4 separate regions of the Homo sapiens genome follow, and regions 2, 3 and 4 are each linked to region 1. Evidence: promoter capture Hi-C in 16 types of primary human blood cells and fetal thymus (Javierre and others, 2016). All regions are on one chromosome and are shown on one strand. The core of a region is centred on a gene start or on the middle of the fragment in contact, and the rest is flanking DNA. Distances in the headings are between cores, read along the strand shown. Region 1 holds the start of FAM200B (family with sequence similarity 200 member B). Region 2 overlaps C1QTNF7-AS1 (C1QTNF7 antisense RNA 1). Region 3 overlaps C1QTNF7-AS1 (C1QTNF7 antisense RNA 1). Region 4 overlaps C1QTNF7-AS1 (C1QTNF7 antisense RNA 1).

Evidence for each region. Contacts are between HindIII fragments. The CHiCAGO score rates a contact against its expected background, and 5 or more counts as called.
Region 2: a fragment that was not itself captured here is called in contact with the fragment with the promoter of FAM200B in region 1 in 11 of 17 cell types (naive CD4 T cells, fetal thymus, activated CD4 T cells and 8 more); the score reaches 10.5 in naive CD4 T cells.
Region 3: a fragment that was not itself captured here is called in contact with the fragment with the promoter of FAM200B in region 1 in 1 of 17 cell types (non-activated CD4 T cells); the score reaches 5.6 in non-activated CD4 T cells.
Region 4: a fragment that was not itself captured here is called in contact with the fragment with the promoter of FAM200B in region 1 in 1 of 17 cell types (naive B cells); the score reaches 5.9 in naive B cells.

The regions. Positions count from the first base shown.
Region 1 is chr4:15,680,495-15,683,259 of GRCh38, reverse strand. It overlaps FAM200B (family with sequence similarity 200 member B), which reads right to left and starts at 1,433. Exons shown (of 2, transcript NM_001145191.2): 1 at 1,359-1,433. It also overlaps a transcript of FBXL5 not described here. RefSeq lists enhancers at 1,164-1,213, 1,224-1,463, 1,634-1,933. The HindIII fragment of the contact is 4,207 bases long and covers 319-2,765 here.
Region 2 is chr4:15,227,266-15,229,965 of GRCh38, reverse strand. The region is part of intron 2 of C1QTNF7-AS1 (C1QTNF7 antisense RNA 1); the gene reads left to right. Among named protein-coding and RNA genes, the nearest start is that of C1QTNF7-AS1, 200 kb to the left of the region's middle. The HindIII fragment of the contact is 1,822 bases long and covers 485-2,306 here.
Region 3 is chr4:15,395,086-15,397,792 of GRCh38, reverse strand. All of the region lies in intron 1 of C1QTNF7-AS1 (C1QTNF7 antisense RNA 1), which reads left to right. It also overlaps a transcript of C1QTNF7 not described here. Among named protein-coding and RNA genes, the nearest start is that of C1QTNF7-AS1, 31 kb to the left of the region's middle. The HindIII fragment of the contact is 907 bases long and covers 809-1,715 here.
Region 4 is chr4:15,244,262-15,247,047 of GRCh38, reverse strand. The region is part of intron 2 of C1QTNF7-AS1 (C1QTNF7 antisense RNA 1); the gene reads left to right. Among named protein-coding and RNA genes, the nearest start is that of C1QTNF7-AS1, 180 kb to the left of the region's middle. The HindIII fragment of the contact is 2,375 bases long and covers 294-2,668 here.

The sequences.
Region 1 (2,765 bases), core at 184-2,683:
GAAAATGTTGCAAGTTTGTCAGAAGAAAATATGAAATATTAATAATTGTTAAGGAATGTGATAATATGATGGACTAGGAAAATGTTTTTGGATTTTTAGTCTGGCTGGTTGTCTTACTTGCTTAATGCAATGATTGTTATTGTTACAATGCTTGATAGTCTAAAATTCCCCGTCACTAATCTTTTATATCCTAAGATATATCTCTAGTGCGCTGTATCATCTTCTGAAAATACAGCTCTAATCAGCTTCCTCATAACTGGAAAAGCATTTAATGGCGCCGAGCTTGTGTAAGCTCTTCAGGATAATATCCTTTAAGCTTAAGCCTCATCTTTCCAGGTTTCTCCTTCATCACATGATCTCCATACATTCTACATTTCAGTACTAAAAGTATGGAAATTCTTGAAATAGTTCATGCACTTTCATGTCTCTGCTTTTGGCTAGTATTCCTTTTGCCTGGAATACTCTTGTTGGGTCACATGAAGTCCTATTTATTCTTTTCTACTTAGTTCAAATGCTACAGCAGCCATGCATTCAACTAACATTTAGCTACCTACAGTGCCTAAAGTATGTCAGGCACTGGAGATACTAAACAATGAACAGTGACATATTAAAATAACAGAATATCTGTTCAGCTATTAAGATGAATAAGGTGGAGTTACACAACACTGACAAATCTCAAAAACATTATGTAAAACAAGCTAGCTGCAAAAAGATGTACACATTACAGATTGCATAAAGGTGGTTAGGAGAGTGGTTTCCTTAGGCAAAAGGAAAGAGAATGAGACGGGGTAGAGCTGACAAAGGACTTCAATCACTTATATAATCATTTATTTCTCCAATTCAGTGGTGAGTACACATGTGTTATAGTTTTGTTTCTACCTTTTTTCTGTCTAAAATCGTCTATTTAAAAAAAGCATCTTTAAGGCTGGATACCTTCCTGAAGGCACTGGAAATCTGTCATACTGCCACTAACTTAAAATTACCTTCCACCTCTTGCATTTCCCTTTGTTTCCTGTTTTGACATTGCGCACACATTAGTTAGTACACTAGGCCTTAAGAGTGGAAACTGCCAGGTACCAGCTTTAGCTAGATTAAAACATGACCCTCTTCCCAGGAGACTCCTGACCGGTTTTCTCGTCCTCCAGGGACCCAGCTAGGATTTCAATGAACTTTGGCCTGAACCCCTCGGCCGACCCTAGAATAATCGCCCTTCAGGCCCGGATTGCTTCTGCTCTCACCTTCCCTCAATTCATACGGGGGGCAAAACCAGACTGTATTTCCCGCAACGAACCCTGGAATGCTTCGCTTTAGCGGACTCCGGTCCACTCCCATCAGAGGATGCCCTTCTTTCGCCTCACCTCCAGCCCAGCCGCAGCGACCCGGCCGGGCCCAGCGCTGCAAGCCTCAGGTCTCTCCAGCAGAGCTGCGCCTCTGCTCTCCCCACACTTCCCTCCGCAACACCACTTCCGGCCTACCTCACAAATTCCCCATTCCAGCCGAAAAGAACTGGATCGGCCCTCTGCGCATGCGTGAGACCGGGGCGGTGTCCGGGGGTGCCGGGAGCGGGCGGTGCAGGCTCCACTTTTCCACTTCCCTACGCTCTGTCGGCAGTCTCGCGGGATTTCCGCCTCTCGCGGGAGTTATTTGAATGCCAGGGCGGTAACGACTCCCTAGGCGCCTGGGGCCCTCTGACAAGAAACCCTAGGAGACACCGCGGAGAACTCTGCCTCTGAGCTGGTGGGCGGGCCGGATGTAGCCGAGCGCGGACAGGGCTAGTCCGGACAGAGTCCCAGAGCCATGGGAGCGAAAAGAGACTGCTGCGGATTAAGGAGGCCTTTCGGTTGGCGCAGCAGCCACACCACAACCAGGCGAAGCAGGTAGTGGCGCTGAATCGCTCCTGCCGCGGGGTAAGCGCTCCCGGCCCGCGCCCGCCCCAGCCCCGACCTGGCGGGGCCAGGACGCTGGTTCATACACTCCAAGGTGATTTTCATAGTCTTTGTGGAAGAATTAGAGAATTTTGAACTTTGATATCATTGCACGTGTTTACTTATTTAGAGAATCGCATTGTGTTTAATAATCATAGTATTCCTGTGCGACTCTTTAGGTTAGCAGATCATTGATTTTTAACATAAAACTGCATTTCATTAAATAGATTTAAATATGTATGTATATTTCTGTCCTCTAATGATTGTAACAAAGCAGATTTCTTGATCATTAACAAGATAGGTTCGTGCAAATAAGTGCATCTTTGTCACAAACCAAATTTTTTTGTGGTTGAGATATATATTTATATATATATGTGAAACAAAAAACATATAAAGGAGAATATATATATATTCTTATATATATAATATATACTGCTTTATTTTTTTGGGTTGACATATATATGTCATATATAGTTTTTTTTTAAATTCTACCTTAAACAGGGAAACATGTTAGATACAGGAGCTTGAATTTCAACTCTGAAACTTAATGCGACTTTATCAGCATTTCTCTTTCTCAAGCTACTTACTTCTTGTAGGATTACACAGTCAAATTTTTAAAAATTTTTGATTCTCCAACTGGATTTTTTTTTTTAATTTTTGAGACGGAGTCTCACTCTCTCGCCCAGGCTGGAGTGCAGTGGCGCAGCCTCGGCTCACTGCAACCTCAGCCTCCTGGTTCAAGCGATTCCCCTGCCACAACCTCCCGAGTAGCTGGGATTACAGGCGACCGCCACCATGCCAGGCTAATTTTTGTATTTTTCAAAAATACAAAGACGGGGT
Region 2 (2,700 bases), core at 146-2,645, 450 kb after region 1:
ATGGGATCATACTAACATGTTCTTCTGCAATTTGAGTTTTTTTAACGTTCGGCATCCTGGATAAGTTCCACATCTTTCTGCCACTTCTCTCTCTCTCTCTCTCTCTCTCCCTCTGTCTTCTTTTTCTCTCTGTAATTGATGTATAGTGTTCCATGGTGAGGTGTACCTATTGTAACTCTGCAGTTTCCTTTCTAGGTAGTCTGCTGCCTTTATTCAGCAGAAGATCAAAGATCCCACCCATGCATGGTATCTCAAGGACTGGAGGGGGAAAAAAAGACAGCAAGTGGGAGTGCCCTCATTTGAGACTATATTTGAGTGAGCATTAAGTAGTGAGTAGCTGAACCTGTAGAGGCTGAAGGGCCTAGAGGCATTGTGGACAAGGCTCCTTGGCAGCTGAAAGATGAGCGGTGTGCTATGAATCCCACCTTACCTATAAGAATGGTACACTTTAATTGGAGGGTTCTTATGGTTTCTATTTTAAGCTTCATTCATATATCATTTATTCAGTCAACAAACATTTTTGAGTGTCTACTCTGAGGCAACCAGGAATGCAGAAATAAATTTTCTTAATAGATACAAACTGATAAGTATCCACAGAGCAATTGCATTCTATGGGACACAATTCATTTGCATTGATCTGGTCACAAATATTTGCATGACTCAGCTTTCTACAATTTACAGAGTAGTAGAAGGATTCAAAGACAATGAGGCTGGGCGTGGTGGCTCACATGGTGGCTCAATCCCAGCACTTTGGGAGGCCAAGGCGGGCAGATCACTTGAGGTCAGGAGTTCGTGACCAGCCTGGCCAACATCGTGAAACCCTGTCTCCGCTAAACATACAAAAATTAGCTGAGCATGGTGGCACACGCCTGTAATCCCAGCCACTTGGGAGGCGGAGGCAGGAGAATCGCTTGAACCTGGGAGGAGGAGGTTGCAGTGAGCTGAGATGGTGCCACTGCACTGCAGCCTGGGTGACAGAGCAAGACTCTGGCTCAAAAGAAAAAAAAAAAATTAAAAGACAATGAAAGGCAGAGATCACCCAGAAAGGTATATTAGGCTGAACATCCGGGAAGTTTTTTCTTCCTCTCATTTTAAAGACTTTCAGAATTTTAATGGACAAATATCACATTAACATACAACCGAAAAAAATGTGGCACGTAAATGCCAAGACCATGGAGATAAAGGCAGTTTAAAAACAGCAGAATTAATTTATCTGTAAGATGACTTTGGTAGGAGGAAAGTACACCAATCTTTCTACAAAACAGCAAGGAAGTACGGGGGCTGATGTATTTAGCACACATTGTTACTTGATATTGGAGGGCCCGCATAGGAACACTTGATGTTTATTAGTGGGTGATGGGGATTTCATCATAGATTGCAGCTATTTCCTTTAACCTGAACTTCAGGTCAGCTGGAACCTCCCAGACATCAGCAAATGTAAGCCCAAGCCTCTTCCTCTCCAGGTGCTCTGATTACCCAGGTGCTTCTTGTTCAGTTCCAGCTCCTGCTTCGTTTCTTGCCTGAGGGTTGTATCTCTTTTTTGATCCCAGCTTCGCTGGCTTTGACCCTAAGTTTTTCCAAGAAAATAGGACTTCACTTTCTTCCTTTCATCCCTGTGATATTGTTCTGATTATAAGATTGCGATGGTTAATATTAAGTGTCAACTTGATTGGATTGAAGGATGCAAAGTATTGTTTCTGGATGTATCTGGGTGTTTCTGGGTATGGCCAGAAGAGATTAACATTTAAATCCGTAGACTGGGAGATGAACACCCACGAACAATGTGGGTGGACACCATCCCATCGGCTGCCCACGTAGCTAGGAAAAGCAGGCAGAAGAAGGTGGAAGAAGCCGATTTGCTGAGTCTTCAGGCCTCCATCTTTCTCCCGTGCTGGATGCTTCCTGCACTCCAACATCAGACTCCAAGTTCTTTGGCTTTTGGACTCTTGGACTTACACCAGGGGTTTGCCAGGGGCTCTTGGGCCTTCGGCCACAGACTGAAGGCTGCACTGTCAGCTTGTCCACTTTTGAGGTGTTGGCACTTGGACTGATCCACCACTGGCTTCCTCGCTCCCCAGCTTGCAGACGGCCTATTGTGGGACTTCACCTTGTGATCAGGTGAGTCAATTCTCCTTCATAAACTCCCTTTCATATATACAAATATCCTATTAGTTCTGTCCGTCTAGAGAAACCTGACTGACACAAGGGGTCATATCCAATCATTGAGACTTTTGGAGTATCCTGGATAGAGGCCATCCTGTGTCTCCCACCAGCTGAGCTCAGAAAATAGAGAAAAACTGCAAGCTTTTGGAGAACCTTCAAACATCATGTTTAAAGAAAATTTAATTTACTTTCTTTTGGCTGAGCTCTTGTTTTGAACCCATACATCAGCTGAAGTGGGTTGTCTTTTGAAATTCAAGTGAAAAGACTTAAATCTAATTCTGTATACTGCAAGGGTTATTTATCTTTTCCCATCTCTGAAGGGATTTGAAGGGTGGGGCAGGATGGGATAGTTTAAGCCTTTTCCAATCATCTCTAAATCTCCCGCTGCCCATATATTCATTGGGTAATTGGTTGTGACAGTTTTGTCACAATGCTCAGCAAAGTGTATCCTTGTTCTGTTTCAAATTGAACCTCTTCCTTCACTGATTTCCACCAAAAATATCTACCCACACAAGACCCACGTGAGTGCTTGTTTGG
Region 3 (2,707 bases), core at 13-2,512, 290 kb after region 1:
ATCCTATGACTAATTTAGGATCTACAGTGGAGCTGAGTGCATAGAATGTTGCTCTTTTTTATTTCTCAGAAAGCACATTCATAAGTGAAGCCTTAAGAACTCTTGGGAATGCTCACAGCCTAGAGAGAGTTGTGGTCTTCTTGTCTTTGAGACTTTAAGTCCCTTGAAGATAAGGGCCATGACTTACTATCTTCAAGCCCAGTGTGACACGGAGCTGTAAGCTCAGGCCTGTAACCACTATCCAGGTGCCTCTAGAGATAGCCAGAGGTGCAGAGGCACACTCCTGCCTCAGATTTTATGCTCACAAAGCATATTTTAGAGGAAGAGTTGTCTGAGCTCACTCCTGAATTTGAGTAGGGGATGACCACTCAGACAGAGGAGCCCTGAGCTTAGGCCCAGGAGGTTGCAGAGCAGGCGAGTAGCTATAGAGTCCACTGTGGGAGAACAGTCTCCGAGAGGTCTTAGGGGATCAGAAACTGCTGTTGCCCTGCTCCAGGGCTCTCAATCCACCTCTGAGCTCACTTGAAGCTGCAGTGGGAAGTTTCCATCTGATATGGTTTGGCTGTGTCCCCACCCAAATCTCATCTTGGATTGTACTCCCATAATTCCCATGTGTTGTGGGAGGGACCCGGTGGAATCACGGGGGCGGTTTCCCTCATATCGTTCTCATGGTAGTGAACAAGTCTTACAAGATCTGGTGGTTTATCAGGGTTTTCTGCTTTTGCATCTTCCTCATTCTCCTTTGCCTGCTGCCATCCATGTAAGACGGGACTTGCTCCTCCTTGCCTTCTGCCATGATTGTGAAGCTTCCCCAGGCACGTAGAACTGTATTAAACCTTTCTCTTTTGTAAATTGCCCAGTCTCAGGTATGTGTTTATTAGCAGCGTGAAAACAGACTAATATGCCATCACACTGACAGCCACCCCCTGAGTTGCCTGTGTCCCTTTCTCTGGAACTACAGGAAAGTTTATTCAGTGTGTGGGCTGCCAAGAAGGGCTGGTGATGGAAAGCCACCCAGGAAACCCTCAGTCAGTGAAGACACAGCCTCTCCTCTGCTGATGGGACAATTCTGAGGGGTGTTCTGAGGAACTCTCAGGGTCCTCAGAGGGACTGAGCATCAGTTGCCCACAGTGCCAACCACTCAATAACACACCTTTTTTTTAGCTTTATTATCCTTTTTCTGTCCCTACTCCCTGCTTTATGCATATAAATAATGTGCCCCCTAAGTCTTTGTCTTAGGGTTTTTGGAAACTAAAATATGATATGCTGCTTGGTGCTCAATAAATAATTGCTGAATACATGAGATCTGCTCAGCTGCCCCCAGATCATGATTAACACTGGAAGCGCTGAGAAAAGATAGTGCACAATTGTACTACTTCGCCTGACCTCCAGATGGAGCTCTCCTGCTCTGCTAGATACATTTTATGGTCCTCTGTGTCAGTGCTGTCTGCCCCCTGCCCCTCCCATTTGAAGGCACAGCCAGAGCCTCTCAATCTCAATCATCTCCAACCTGATGGAGGTTGGCTCAGGCCCACCTTGGTGGGAATTTGGAGCAGTGAGGCCCAGGATGCGGTACAAGTGGCTGAATCTTCACATTCGGGTGCTGTCAGGCTGCAGCCCTCATCCATTGCTGGTGCCCTGGTCAAGTTGGAATGACATCCTCCCTGAGGTCCTTGTGAAGGTCTCAGCCACATCCACTTACTTGTTTGGAAGCTTTACTTGGAATTTTGCAGCTTTGCTCTGACCTGAAACTCCCACTGCTTAGAGCCCTCTTCATTGCCCCCCACTTACTAAAACTGATTTCTTTGGAGATTAGCATCTGCCCAGGTTCAAGCCCAGATTTCAGAGAAATTAGACTTTAAAGTTAAAACAGTGTCTTTGGAGTCAAAAAGACTGAGGTTTAACGTCTACTTCCACCACTGACTGGCCAGATGACCATAGGGGCAGGATACTTACCCCTCCCAGCTTCATTTTTCTCATCCGTAAAATGGTGATACTAATATGTGTTTCAAAGGGTTTGATTGTTAGAGACAATATATCTAAGGTGCCCTGTATTTTCTCAGCACAGAGTAGGTCTTACAATTTTCTGCTGTTTTTTCGGTGTCATTTGAACAATGGACCCTCCCTCGGCCCTGCCTTTCTCTATTTTCTCACTATCCCCCAGCTCCCAGCCCATCATGCCTCCTGGTAGAGAATGTCTGAGTTACGAGTCTGAGTATACTGGCCTCTTTTAACTGGGTTGTGGTTGTAACAGCTTTGTTTTCTTAGAGTCTGTGTCTATTTGGCATCCATTCATCACAGGGCCAGTTGTATTAACTATCTTTTCTTGTTTTCTGTGTTCCTGATGCTCTGGCATTTGACTGGGGAGAGACTGCACCTCCCAGGCATAGCCAGTTCTTACAGAAAGCAAGGGGGCTTGCCCAAGAGCACTCTTTTTTTAAATGCAAAAACACCAATCCAGAGTCCACGCCCCCCACCATCTCTTTTATGGAATTCTTACACATGGAGCCAATATTCCCTCTTCCCTAAATCACCCCAGGGCCAGGCACCAGACAACTAGGGACAGTCCCTATGCTCCAAAGCCATCAGACTTATTCCAAGTAGCCAGTCCTAAGCTGTTTATCCTGCCCTGTCTTGCTTTTCCCATGGAAAACACAGTGAAGGCTCTGGCCCAGGCTCTCTCTTCTCTCCCTTCTGCCCCCTGACC
Region 4 (2,786 bases), core at 232-2,731, 440 kb after region 1:
GCGCCAAGAAAGGAATTTATTTTCTGCAAGAGCCACACCAAAACAAAAAACAAAAAACACATCTTGTTCACTAGGTTATCTCTTGTATCTTTATAAACAGAGATCTAAGGTTTTAATTCTGTTATGGCATGGTGCATGTTCCTAAGTACAGAGAAAACTTCATAAAAAGAGAACCAAAGGGGGAGTTGAAGTTTCCTTGCTCCAGGCCTATACCTGAGAGCACATATCCTCTAAGCATTTAAAAACCTTCTGAAGAATGTGGAAATAGGCAGAGGGGAGATTATTTTTAAGCTTGCTGGTATCTGGGAATGGAGAGTAGCTGTTGCTAATGGCCAATGGGGAGAAATGATGAAAAGATAGAAATGCTAGAACCTTATATTGCCTGCAGTTAGACACTGCATGGATATAGTGGGGGATTTTGAAGAAGGCTCTAGAACACACAGTCTCTACAGAGGAGTGCAGTACAAAGGGCTCTAAGTTTGGACTCAGATGTCCTGGATCTGAAGCTCAGTATCCACTCTGGGTAATCTCTTGTCATGACCAGTTAATAGAAACTCTGAGAATATCAAGTTGTGATCAGCAAAATGGAAACATAGTAACTGTCTAAAAGAGCCATTCTGGGAACAGATTCACTGGGTTAACTTCATTCATTCACTAATTTGTTTATGTATTAACATTACTAACTGCCAATGTATGTAAGGCACTGTGCTAAGTTCTAGGAAAATAGAAAGGAGTCATCTGACTCCATTGCAAATTGGACTTTAAAATTCTAAAAGTGTTATGCTCTTTTAAAAAAATAGTTTCTATTTGTAATTGTAGGATATGAAATATTAAATGGACAATTATTCTGGTTAATGTGATGTTGGTAGATCTGGAGTCCAACCCAACTGGCTTCCTCTTGATTCCAAAGGATGTTCCTGAGTCACTTCCCAGGGATCCTCTGAGTGACATGGAATTGCTCTGAAACCACTGCATCCCAATGCAAGCCACCTTGCTGTATCACTCTATCAAATAGCCCATGTTCTGTACTCCTAAGCAGGATTGTCTTTCACAGAGGTTAAAGAAAGAGAGGGCAAATCCTAGTGGCCTTGGAGTAATGCACATTTTTTTCAGGAGGTTGATGAGAGTATCAGTGAGCAGCTACCCCAGAAAAATCTATTTTGTAGCCTGGCATAGAAAACTGGCCTTGATTTTTAATCTTAGCACAGCACCTGGCATAGAGATGCTCCATACATGATTTGCTGAATAAATGAATAGACTCCCCCATGACAACCTTTCCATCTGGCATGAAGTGGCCTACCATGGTGGCCATGAGCATTGCCTCCAGACCCCCCACCACAGACAGCAGAGTCAGCTGCTGGGCTTTGAAATCCACTGTGGTGTTTGTACCAAGGCTGTGTCTCCCATGGGTAGCTCCTGGCAAGGAAGAGCCTGGTGCAGACACTAAGTAGACTAAGGGATCCCTCTGGGTGAGCAGCTTTTTCTCAAGGACTCCGCGATGGCTTTGCTGAACCCTCTTTTGACTGCATGACAGGCAGTCTGTGATGTTTCCCCTACCCCCAACCTCCTCTCCCTCTCTCCTTCGCTTGAGTCAGATTCTTATCATGTTCTGATGACCTCCTAACCTTCCCAGCTCCCATCATTTTCTCTCTTACACAGGCATTTCTCCAATACAGTCCTTACATGTTTAACCCTGTCTTGTTACCTGTCCCTGGGAGGACCTGGACTGTCACATTTGCCAATCACTTTGTAGGATTAAATTATCTGGCCGTTGATTATGGATTTTAAGAACCAGCCCAGGCAGATAAGCATCTGTGAGGGTGGCCTGGAGTGGGAGGGCCTTGGGGATGAGTCAGCAAGGGAGGGGGTTTCACCCAGGACAGTTGGAGGGGAGTCAGAGTTGAACCTGGAAGAGTAGAAGAAGCACCACATCTCTAAAGAGAAAGAAGCACAAGAACTGATGAATGACCCGGTCAGGCTAGTAGCAAGGAGGGGGAAGCAGACTGCAATCAGATGGGATAAATGAAGTGGGGAGGGCAGTTCAACATGAAGCAGTTCAACATGTGCATAGAAAGGCTTACTTTTTAAGGTTTATGATCAGGGGGCTTTAAAACCTATTTGGCACATAGATTTGGGTACATGGTGGTGGTTGAGGTAAGGGAAACCAAAGGAGCTGGTGGGAGTTTTAAACAAAGAACCAGACTAGGGATCGGCAGCACATGACTCCCTGCCAACCTTGACCTTATCCCTTGACCAGACACATTGACTGAAATGTGGCAAGGACCCAATAGGCTTTTGGACAGGATGATTACCTGGGGATTCTGGCAGATGAGATTCTAGGGATTCTGGCAGATGAGAGGCAACATGCCAAAACAAAAACTCATGACTGGCCACATGTGCTGATATAGTTTGGATGTTTGTCCCTTCCAAATCTCATGTTGAAATTTGATCCCCAGTGTTGGAGGTGCGCCCTTTGCGGGAGGTGTTTGAGTCATGGGGCAGACACTCATGAATAGCTTAGTGACTTTCTCACAGTAATGAGGGAGTTCTTACTCTATTAGTTCACTGATTGTTAAAAACAAGCCTGGCACCCCCTCCCTTCTCTCTTGCTTCCTCTCTTGCCATGTGACACACCTGCTCCCCTTGCCTTCTGCTATAAGTAAAAGCTTCCTGAGGCTGTCACTGGAAACCAAGCAAGTTCTGGAGGCTCTCACTGGAAACCAACCAAGTTCTGGAGCCATGCTTCTTGTACAGCCTGCAGAAACGTGAGGCTAATAAACCTCTTT